Linked DNA regions of Homo sapiens: region 2 is linked to region 1. Evidence: promoter capture Hi-C in human tissues and cell types (Jung and others, 2019). All regions are on one chromosome and are shown on one strand. The core of a region is centred on a gene start or on the middle of the fragment in contact, and the rest is flanking DNA. Distances in the headings are between cores, read along the strand shown.

Region 1 (4,972 bases), core at 1,591-4,090:
GCCCCTTTCTGGGCTGGCCAAGGCTGGATCCGGCTCCCCCAGCTTCACGGAGGTGTGGAGGGAGAGGCACTAGCGGGAACCAGGCTGCGCACGGTGCTTGCGGGCCAGCTGGAGTTCCGGGTGGGCGTGGGCTTGGCAGGCCTGCACTCGGAGCAGCCAGCCGTCCCTGCCCCGGGCAATGAGGGTCTTAGCACCCGGGCCAATGGCTGCGGAGGGTGTGCTGGGTGCCCCAGCAGGGCCAGCCCACTGGCGCTGAGCTCGATTTCTTGCGAGGCCTTAGCTGCCTTCCCGTGGGGCAGGGCTCGGGACCCGCAGCCTGCCATGCCTGAGCCTTCCCCGCCACCACGCCCTCCTCCCCCCCGCCCTCCTCTCCCCCCCGCCCTCCTCCCCCCTGCCACCCTCCTCCCCCACTCCTCCTCCCCTCCTCCCCCCGCCCTCCTCCCCCCCACCCTCCTCCCCACCCCCCTCCCCACCCCCACCCTCCTCTCCCCCTGCCCTACCCCCCGCTCCTTCCCCCTCCTACCCCCTCCTCCCCCGCCTCCTCCTCCGTGGGCTCCTGTGCAGCCGGAGCCTCCCCGACAAGTGCCGCCCCCTGCTCCACGGCACCCAATCCCGTCGACCACCCAAGGGCTGAGGAGTGCGGGCGCATGGCGCGGGACTGGCAGGCAGCTCCACCTGCAGCCCCAGTGCAAGATCCACTGGGTGAAGCCAGCTGGGCTCCTGAGTCTAGTGGGAACTTGGAGAACCTTTATGTCTAGCTAAAGTATTGTAAATACACCAATTGGCACTCTGTATCTAGCTCAAGGTTTGTAAACACACCAATCAGCACCCTGTGTCTAGCTCAGGGTTTGTGAATGCACCAATCAACACTCTGTATCTAGCTACTCTGGTGGGGACTTGGAGAACCTTTGTGTCGACACTCTGTAGCTAGCTAATCTAGTGGGGATGTGGAGAACCTTTGTGTCTAGCTCAGGGATTGTAAAGGCACCAATCAGCGCCCTGTCAAAACAGACCACTTGACTCTACCAGTCAGCAGGATGTGGGTGGGGCCACATAAGAGAATAAAAGCAGGCTGCCCCAGCCAGCAGTGGTAACCCGCTTTGATCCCCTTCCACGCCGTGGAAGCTTTGTTGTTTCACTCTTTGCAATAACTCTTGCTACTGCTCACTCTTTGGGTCCACACTGCTTTTATGAGCTGTAACACTCACCGCGAAGGTCTGCAGCTTCACTCCTGAAGCCAGCGAGACCACGAGCCCACCGGGAGAAATGAACAACTCCAGACGCGCCGCTTTAAGAGCTCTAACACTCACCGCGAAGGTCTGCAGCTTCACTCCTGAGCCAGCAAGACCACGAACCCACCAGAAGGAAGAAACTCCGAGCACATCCGAACATCAGAAGGAACAAACTCCAGACGTGCCACCTTAAGATCTGTAACACTCACCACGAGGGTCCCCGGCTTCATTCTTGGAGTCGGTGAGACCAAGAACCCACCAATTCCGGACACATTAGTACAGGTCTTTGAATAAATTTTGCTTCTAACAGAAGTTACTATTTATTCCTAATTAGATGGGCAGGAAAGTCTTTGAAGAGGAACCTCTACTTTACTTTTTACTGTAGAGAGAGTAGTCTTTGATCTTGGGGAGATGGGGTTTTTCCTTTTGGTTTAGCTTCAGGAAGTTTGTGTTAATTGGCCTTAGGTGCCCTGCCCCCAGCCCCAGGTGTTTTTCCTTTGATTTAACTTTAGGAAATTATCACGAATTGGCCTTAGATTCCCCGACCCCAGATCTTGGTGTTTTCACTTTTAGGAAGTCCGCATGAATCTTATCTATGCTCTTAACTACGTCCTAATTTTTGTGTTTTTTGTCTTTTTTATAGGAATAGGGTTTTGCCATATTGCCCAGGCTGGTCTCGAACTCCTGAGCTCAAGTGGTCTGCCTGCCTCAGCCTCCCAAAGTGCTGGGATCACTGGCGTGAGCCATCAGGCCCAGCCTCTATGTGCTAATTTTTGAACAAATTCCAATAGGAGCATTCTAGTCTCTGAGTGTGAGATGACCAAAAATCAAGCCCTTGTGAGGCTGAATAGAGTCGGGAGGCAGGGAACTTAAGGCTGTTTCAGGCCGACTTCCTAGAACTAAATTGAAAGGAAAACCCTCACTTTCCTCGCCTAAATAACAAAAGGACCAGAGGCTACTCCCTTTGACCTTTTCTGCTGGCAGATAGGAAATTGGCTGTCTGCAACAAATCAGACTGATGGCCGGTTGAGTCTTCATTTGCATAGAAGTGTAACTTTGTAACGTCGTAACTTCACCCTAGCCTTTGATTGGTTGCTTTTTGCAACCAATCAGATGTTTGCACAGGAGTGTGACCTTTGTAACTTCAGACTCTGGTTGGCTGCTTTCTGCAACCAATCAGACTGAACGCGGGCTACCGCTTCATTTACAGGAGGTGAGCATGAAGTGGCCAATGGGAAAATTCTAGGAGGTATTGGGACTCATGAAGGTTCTGTTTCGGAGCCCTTGAGCTGCCGCTTGGCCAGTTCCCACACTGTGGAGTATGCTTTCGTTTTCAACAAATCCCAGCTCTTGTTCTTTTGTTGCTTCATTCTTTCTTTGCTTTGCTGGGCGTTTTGTCTAATTCTTTGTTCAAAACGCCAGTAACCTGGACAGCTTGCAGTCAAGACCCCCTACCGGTGACACTTGCGCTCTTCGGGGAGGTAAACAGCATTTCCTCTCAGCTCTGGGTTGGAAAAAGCCGCAGCAGCTGATGGGCCCGGGAACCCGAGGCCCCGCCCCCTAGGTGGTCCTAGCCTTTGCGCGTGCGCGGCGTGTCTGCGTGGGCGCATGCGCATAACGGCCGCCATCTTAACAGCGCGTTCCCGTTGGCGTCTGAGGTAAGTTTTTGTTTCTGGGCGGCGTTCGGTGGTGTCCCGGTGCAGCCACGCGAGAGTAGAAGGGTGGAAAGGGGAGGTGCCCAGTGAAATGGAGCCTGTCCCGTGCACTTTCGGGCATTTCGAGCATCTTGTGGGCTCTCCCAAGTCGCGGCCCCTCCTCTGAGAGCCACAGTCAGGTCTGTCCTCAGGGGTCGAGGCGGCTGCGCTGGGGCCTCGGCCCGGGAGGAGGCGGGGGGCACGGCCTTTCCATTTTCCCTGCTCCCCTCTGCAGAAGCCTCATAGGGCCCGGCGCGGCGGCTCACGCCTGTCATTCCCAGCGCTTTGGGCGGATTGGGTAGGAGGATTACTTGAGGCCAGGAGTTCAAGACCAGGCAGGGCAACATAGGGAGACCCCCCCCCCCAACCATCTCTAATGGAAAAAAAAAAAAAAGTCTCCACATCCAGCGTTGTGCCTTTTCTCTATAAGGAACAGCATCTCTGCCTTCCTGTTCACGGTGACCTTCGCTTGGTGTCCTCCTGGCCTCAGCAACCTGACAATTCTGTCGTGTCCCGGTGAGCACTTCATGCACTTGTTCTGGCTGTGGGTGTCGGGTCTTGAAGTTTAAGTTGTGTCGAGGTGGAAAGAAACCTTTTCAGGTGGTTGTTCGAGAGCACATGGATCTGATACCATCGAATGCATGAGTGGATGAATGCACATAACTGTAAAATTTACCACCAAGGAAAAACACAGGACTACTCAACTGTGGTTCCAGGCCATCACCTAGATCTCACTCTAGCGCCCTGTAGATTCCCCCAGAGGTTCAAAACGAGGGCATCCCCAGGAACACGGTGCGGGCTGATTTACTAGCAGGAGGGATTGAATTGATAATGAATGCGAAGATAACTTTTGACAGGTGGGTTTTCTACCAGTTACTCATTTGAAAGTCTTACTGAGGGCGGGGCAAGGTGGCTCACACCTGTAATCCCAGCGTTTTGGGAGGCTGAGGCTGGAGGATCGCTTGAGCCCAGGAATTTGATGCCAACCTGGAAAAAATAGGGCAAGCCTCTGTCTCTACTAAAAATAAAAAATTAGCTGGGCATGGTGGTGTCTGTGGTCCCATCCACTTTGGAGGCCGAGATGCGAGGATCACTTGAGCATGGGAGGTCGAGGCTGCTGTGAGCCATTATTGTGTCACTGCATTCCAGCTTAGGCAACAGAGTGAGACCCTGTTTCAAAAAGAAGAAAAAAAAACAAATACTGATCTAGAGAACATCTGTAGCTCGAGTAAAACAAATGTCTTTAGTCCAGGTGTGGTGGCTCACGCCTGTAATCCCAGCATGTTGGGAGGCTGAGGCTGGCGGATCACGAGGTCAGGAGTTTGAGACCAGCCTGGCCAACATAGTGAAACCCCGTCTTTACTCAAAATACAAAAAATTAGCCGGGCGTGGGCACCTGTAATCCCAGCTACTCAGGAGCCTGAGGCAGGAGAATCGCTTGAACCTGGGAGGCAGAGGTTGCAGTGAGCCAAGATTGCACCCTTGCATTCCAGCCTGGGCAACAGTGCGAGACTCCGTCTCCAAAAAAAAAAAAAAAAGTCTTTAACCCTTAACTACATTCACTAGTTGTTAAGATTTGTTTCATTTTTTTGTATATGTACTTTATCATGAGCCATTTAAATTGGAAGTGAATGAACTTTCCCCTTTTAAGCGTGTATCTCAAATACCTCCTGAAAGTGAAGACAAGCTTAAAACAAGACTTCATTGTCCATCCCCACCCCCAAATCAAATCAGATTTCCCCAGCTGTCCAAAAGTCACCATAGTCACCATTATAGTTGCCAGGTTGTTTGCATGTTTTTAGATCTGTTAAATCTGTTTTTTAACTAGACTATTCACCTGATTTTTTTTTTTTTTTTTTTTTTTTTTGAGACGGAGTCTGTCTGTCCCAGGCTGGAGTGCAGTGGTGTGATCTCAGCTCACTGCAACCTCTGCCTCCTGCGTTCAAGCGATTCTCCTGACTCAGCCTCCCAAGTAGCTGGAATTACAGGCGTGTGCCACCACGCCCGGCTAATTGTATTTTTAGTAGAGACAGGGTTTCACCGTGT
Region 2 (4,972 bases), core at 1,365-3,864, 73 kb after region 1:
TAAAAGCATTTAAGTATAACCTACTTTTAATTAATGCAGTTTTGCAACTTTTCAGTCTAAAGAAAAACAAAAAATTAAATTAAAAAAATTAATGCACAGTGGAGAAACTTGCCAGACACTATCTTAACCAAGAGATAACAGCTTACACCACTATTAGAAATAATGGGGAGTGGCCAGGCGCTGTGGCTCACACCTGTACTCCTAGCACTTTGGGAGGCTGAGGAGGGAGGATTACTTGAGGTCAGGAGTTCGAGACCAGCCTGGCCAACATGGTGAAACCCTGTCTCTACAAAAATACAAAAATTAGCCGGGTGTGGTGGTGTGTGCCTGTAATCCCAGCTGCTCAGGAGGCTGAGGCAAGAGAATCGCTTGAACCCAGGAAGCGGAGGTTGCAGTGAGCCGAGATCACGCACCACTGCACTCCAGCCTGGGTGACAGAGCAAGACTCTGTCTAAAAACAAAAAGAAAAGAAATAATGGGGAGTCTTTGGTGGTTTGTGTTGTGGGTCTTTATGATCAGTGATGAGGTCTATTCATCTCTACTGTGAGACCACAGGGGTCAGTGGGGTTAGTGAGTGATATGGTTTGGCTGTGTCCCCACCCAAATCTCACCTTGAATGGTAATAATCCCCACATGTCAAGGGTGGGGCCAGGTGGAGATAACTGAATTACAGGCAGTTTCCCCCATACTGTTCTTGCGGTAGTGAGTAAGTCAAGATATGATGGACTTATAAAGGGAAGTCCCCCTCCACAAGATCTCTTGCCTACTGCCAGGACATTGCTCCTCAGTCGCCTTCTGCCATGATTGTAAGGCCTCCTCAGCCATGTGGAACTGTGAGTCAATTAAACCTCTTTCCTTTGTATATTACCCAGTCTCAGGTATGTCTTTATTAGCAGCATGAAAACACATCAATACAGTGAGGATTTGTGAGGTTAGTGATGAAGGTCTGTAGGGACAGTGATTAGGAGTCTCTGGGGTCAGTAACATGTACACTGTGGGGTTAGTGATAGAGATTCCTTAGGAGCAGTAATAGGGATTATACAGAGATCAATGGAGGAATCTCTGGTGCTATGTTGCAGCTCTGTGGGGTCGGTGATATATATGAAGCGGGGTCAGGGATGTGCAGTCTGAAATCAATGGTGTGGCTATGTGGGGGTCAGCGATGTGATCCCAAGGGGGCTTGGTGGAGATTCAGATGGTCAGTCATACTGGGGAACTGTGGAGTCATTGATGGAAGGTCCGTGGGATTGCTCATTGGGAATTTAGAGGTAAGTACTGTGGCGCCCATAGAATATTTACCAGGGATGGAAAGTGCATTAGTTAAGGTCAGTGATGGGGGTTGAGGATTGGTGATGGGGTGTAGGTGTGTAATATGCCAGTGGTCAATAGGTTAGATGACGAGGGCTATAAGGAATGCTATTCATTGTCTATAAGAAACCCACTTTAATTAAACAGACACATATAGATTAAAAGATGAATGAAGAAAGATATACCATGCTAATGACAATCAAAAGAAAGCAGGAGTAGCTATATTAATTTCAGACAGAGCAGACTTCAACTTTTTTAAATTACAGATGTGGGGTCTTGCTACATTGCCCAGGCTGGTGTCAAACTCCTAGCCTCAAGCGATCCTCCACCTCAGCATCCCAAAGTTCTGCATTACAGATGTGAGACCCTGTGCCTGGACCAGAGCACACGTCATATCAAGGAAAGTTATCTGGGATAAAGAGGGGCATAACTTAAAGAGACCAATATTCCAAGAAGTCATAACAATCCTTAATGTGTGTACACATGACAGAGCATCAAAATGAGGTAAAAGCTAGTAGAACTGCATGGAGAAATAGATAAAACCACTATTATAGCTGGAGATTTAAATACCCCTTTATCGCCAGGCACAGTGGCACACTTTGGGAGGCCGAGGCGGTTAGATCACGAGGTCAGGAGTTTGACACCAGCCTGGTCAATATGGTGAAACCTCGTCTCTACTAAATATGTAAAAATTAGCCAAGTGTGGTGGTGCACACCTATAGTCCCAGCTACTTGGGAGGCCGAGGCAGGAGAATCGCTTGAACCCAGGAGGCAAAGGGTGCAGTGAACTGAGATCACGCCATGGCACTCCAGCCCAGGTGACAGTGCAAGACTCCATCTCAAAAAAAAAAAAAAAAATGAAAAAATAAATTAATTAAAAATAAATACCCCTCTATCACAAATGGACAGATCCAGCAGGGAGAAAATCAGTAAGAATGTAGTAAAACTCAACAGCATTATCAATCAACTGGATATAATTAACATATATAGATTACTTCATCCAAAACCAGCAGATTATACATTCTTCTCAAGCTCACATAGAATATTCATCAAGACAGGCCACACTGCGGGTCATGAAACACCTCTTAACAAATATGAAAGAACTGAAATCATACAATGTATGCTCTCAGATCACAACAGAATTAAACTGGAAACTAATCAAAGACAGCTAAAAAAATCTCAAAATACTTGAAGATCAAACAGCACACTTCTAAATAAATAGGTCAAACAAGAAATCTCAAAAAAAGTTTAAAAAATTTGCACTGACAACAGATACAACTTAACAAGATTTGTGGGGTGCAACAAAAGCAGTTCTTCGGGGGAAATTTATAACACTGAATGGTTAGAAAAGAAAAAAGATCTGTGCCAATCATCTAAGCTTCCACCTTAGGAAACTAAAAAAAAAAAAAAAAAGCAAATTAAATCCAAAGTAAGCAGAAGAAAAGAAATAATAAAAATTCAAGGCCAGACATGGTGGCTTATGCCTGTAATCTCAGCACTTTTGGAGGCCAGTGTGGGAGGATCACTTGAGGGCCAGGAGTTTTGAGACCAGCCTGGGCAACACAGCTAGACTCCATTTCTACAAAAATTTTAAAAGCCAGGCATGGTGGCACATGCCTGTACTCCCCTCTATTTGGGTGACTGAGGTGGAAGCATCCCTTGAGTCCAGGAGTTTGAGGCTGCAGTGAGCCATGATCATGCCACTGCACTCCTGCCTGGACAACAAAGCAAGACACTGTCTCAAACAAAAAACCTCAAGCAAAAGTCAGTGAAATTGAAAACAGAAAATAGAGTAAAATCAACAATACCAAAAGCTGGTTCTTTGAAAGGATGAATAAAATAAACCTCTCATCAGGCTAACAAAGAAACAACAGAGAAGACACAAATTACTAATAGCAGAAATTAAGAAGGGACATCACTACAGATCTCATAAATATGAAATGGGGGGCGGAGCCAAGATGTCCAAATAGGAACAGCTCCAGTCTACAGCTCCCAGCATGAGTGATGCAGAAGACGGGTGATTTCTGCATTTCCAACTTAGGTACCGGGTTCATCTCACTGGGGAGTGTCAGAAAGTGGGTGCAGCGCACCGAGCGTGAGCTGAAGCAGGGCGAGGCATCACCTCACCTGGGAAGCGCAAGGGGTCAGGGAATTCCCTTTCCTAGTCAAAGAAAGGGGTGAGAGACAGCACCTGGAAAATCGGGTCACTCCCACCCTAATACTGCACTTTTCAAATGGTCTTAGCAAACGGCACACCAGGAGATTACATCCCACGCCTGGCTCGGAGGGTCCTACGCCCATAGAGCCTTGCTCATTGCTAGCACAACAGTCTGAGATCAAACGGCAAAGTGGCAGTGAGGCTGGGGGAGGGGCGCCCGCCATTGCTGAGGCTTGAGCAGGTAAACAAAGTGGCTGGAAAGCTTGAACTGGGTGGAGCCCACCGCAGCTCAAGGATGCATGCCTGCCTCTGTAGACTCCACCTCTGCGGGCAGGGCACAGCCAAACAAAAGGCAGCAGAATCCTCTGCAGACTTAAATGTCCCTGTCTGCAGCTTTGAAGAGAGCAGTGGTTCTCTCAGCATGCAGCTGGAGATCTGAGAATGAACAGACTGCCTCCTCAAGTGGGTCCCTGACCCCTGAGTAGCCTAACTGGGAGGCATCCCCCAGTAGGGGGAGACTGACACCTCACATGGCTGGGTACTCCTCTGAGACAAAACTTCCAGAGGAACATTTGCTGTTCACCAATATCCACTGTTCTGCAGCCTTTGCTGCTGATACCCAGGCAAACAGGTTTGGAGTGGACCTCCAGCAAACTCCAACAGACCTGCAGCTGAGGGTCCTGACTGTTAGAAGGAAAACTAACAAACAGGACATCCACACCAAAACCCTATCAGTACATCACCATCATCAAAGACCAAAGGTAGATAAAACCACAAAGATGGGGAAAAAACAGAGCAGAAAAACTGGAAACTCTAAAAATCAGAGCGCCTCTGCTCCTCCAAAGGAACGCAGCTCCGCATCAGCAATGGAACAAAGCTGGACGGAAAATGACTTTGACGAGTTGACAGAAGAAGGCTTCAGATGATCAAACTACTCCAAGCTAAAGGAGGAAGTTTGAACCCATGGCAAAGAAGTTAAAAACCGTGAAAAAAAATTAGAATGGCTAACTAGAATAGCCAATGCAGAGAAGTCCTTAAAGGACCTGATGGAGCTGAAAACCAAGGCACAACAACTACATGACAAATGCACAAGCCTCAGTAGCCGATTCGATCAACTGGAAGAAAGGGTATCAGTGATGGAAGATCAAATGAATGAAATGAAACAAGAAGAGAAGTTTAGAGAAAAAAGAATGAAAAGAAACAAAGCCTCCAAGAAATATAGGACTATATGAAAAGACCAAATCTACATCTGATTGGTGTACCTGAAAGTGACAGGGAGAATGGAACCAAGTTGGAAAACACTCTGCAGGATATTATCCAGGAGAACTTCCCCAATCTAGCAAGGCAGGCCAACATTCAAATTCAGGAAATACAGAGAAAGCCACAAAGATACTCCTCAAGAAGAGCAACTCCAAGACACATAATTGTCAGATTCACCAAAGTTGAAATGAAGGAAAAAATGTTAAGGGCACCCAGAGAGAAAGGTCGGGCTACCCACAAAGGGAA

Evidence for each region. Contacts are between HindIII fragments. The study calls those that stand out against the background at their distance.
Region 2: a fragment that was not itself captured here is called in contact with the fragment with the promoter of ZNF559 in region 1 in 3 of the 25 tissues and cell types used here (aorta, pancreas and psoas muscle).

The regions. Positions count from the first base shown.
Region 1 is chr19:9,321,339-9,326,310 of GRCh38, forward strand. It overlaps ZNF559 (zinc finger protein 559), which reads left to right and starts at 2,841. Exons shown (of 7, transcript NM_032497.3): 1 at 2,841-2,890; 2 at 3,357-3,442. It overlaps ZNF559-ZNF177 (ZNF559-ZNF177 readthrough), which reads left to right and starts at 2,841. Exons shown (of 13, transcript NM_001384659.1): 1 at 2,841-2,890; 2 at 3,357-3,442. RefSeq lists an enhancer at 2,685-2,934 and a silencer at 3,105-3,244. The HindIII fragment of the contact is 8,356 bases long and covers 1-4,972 here.
Region 2 is chr19:9,394,454-9,399,425 of GRCh38, forward strand. The region is part of intron 1 of LOC112268250 (a long non-coding RNA gene); the gene reads right to left. Among named protein-coding and RNA genes, the nearest start is that of ZNF177, 34 kb to the left of the region's middle. The HindIII fragment of the contact is 3,595 bases long and covers 818-4,412 here.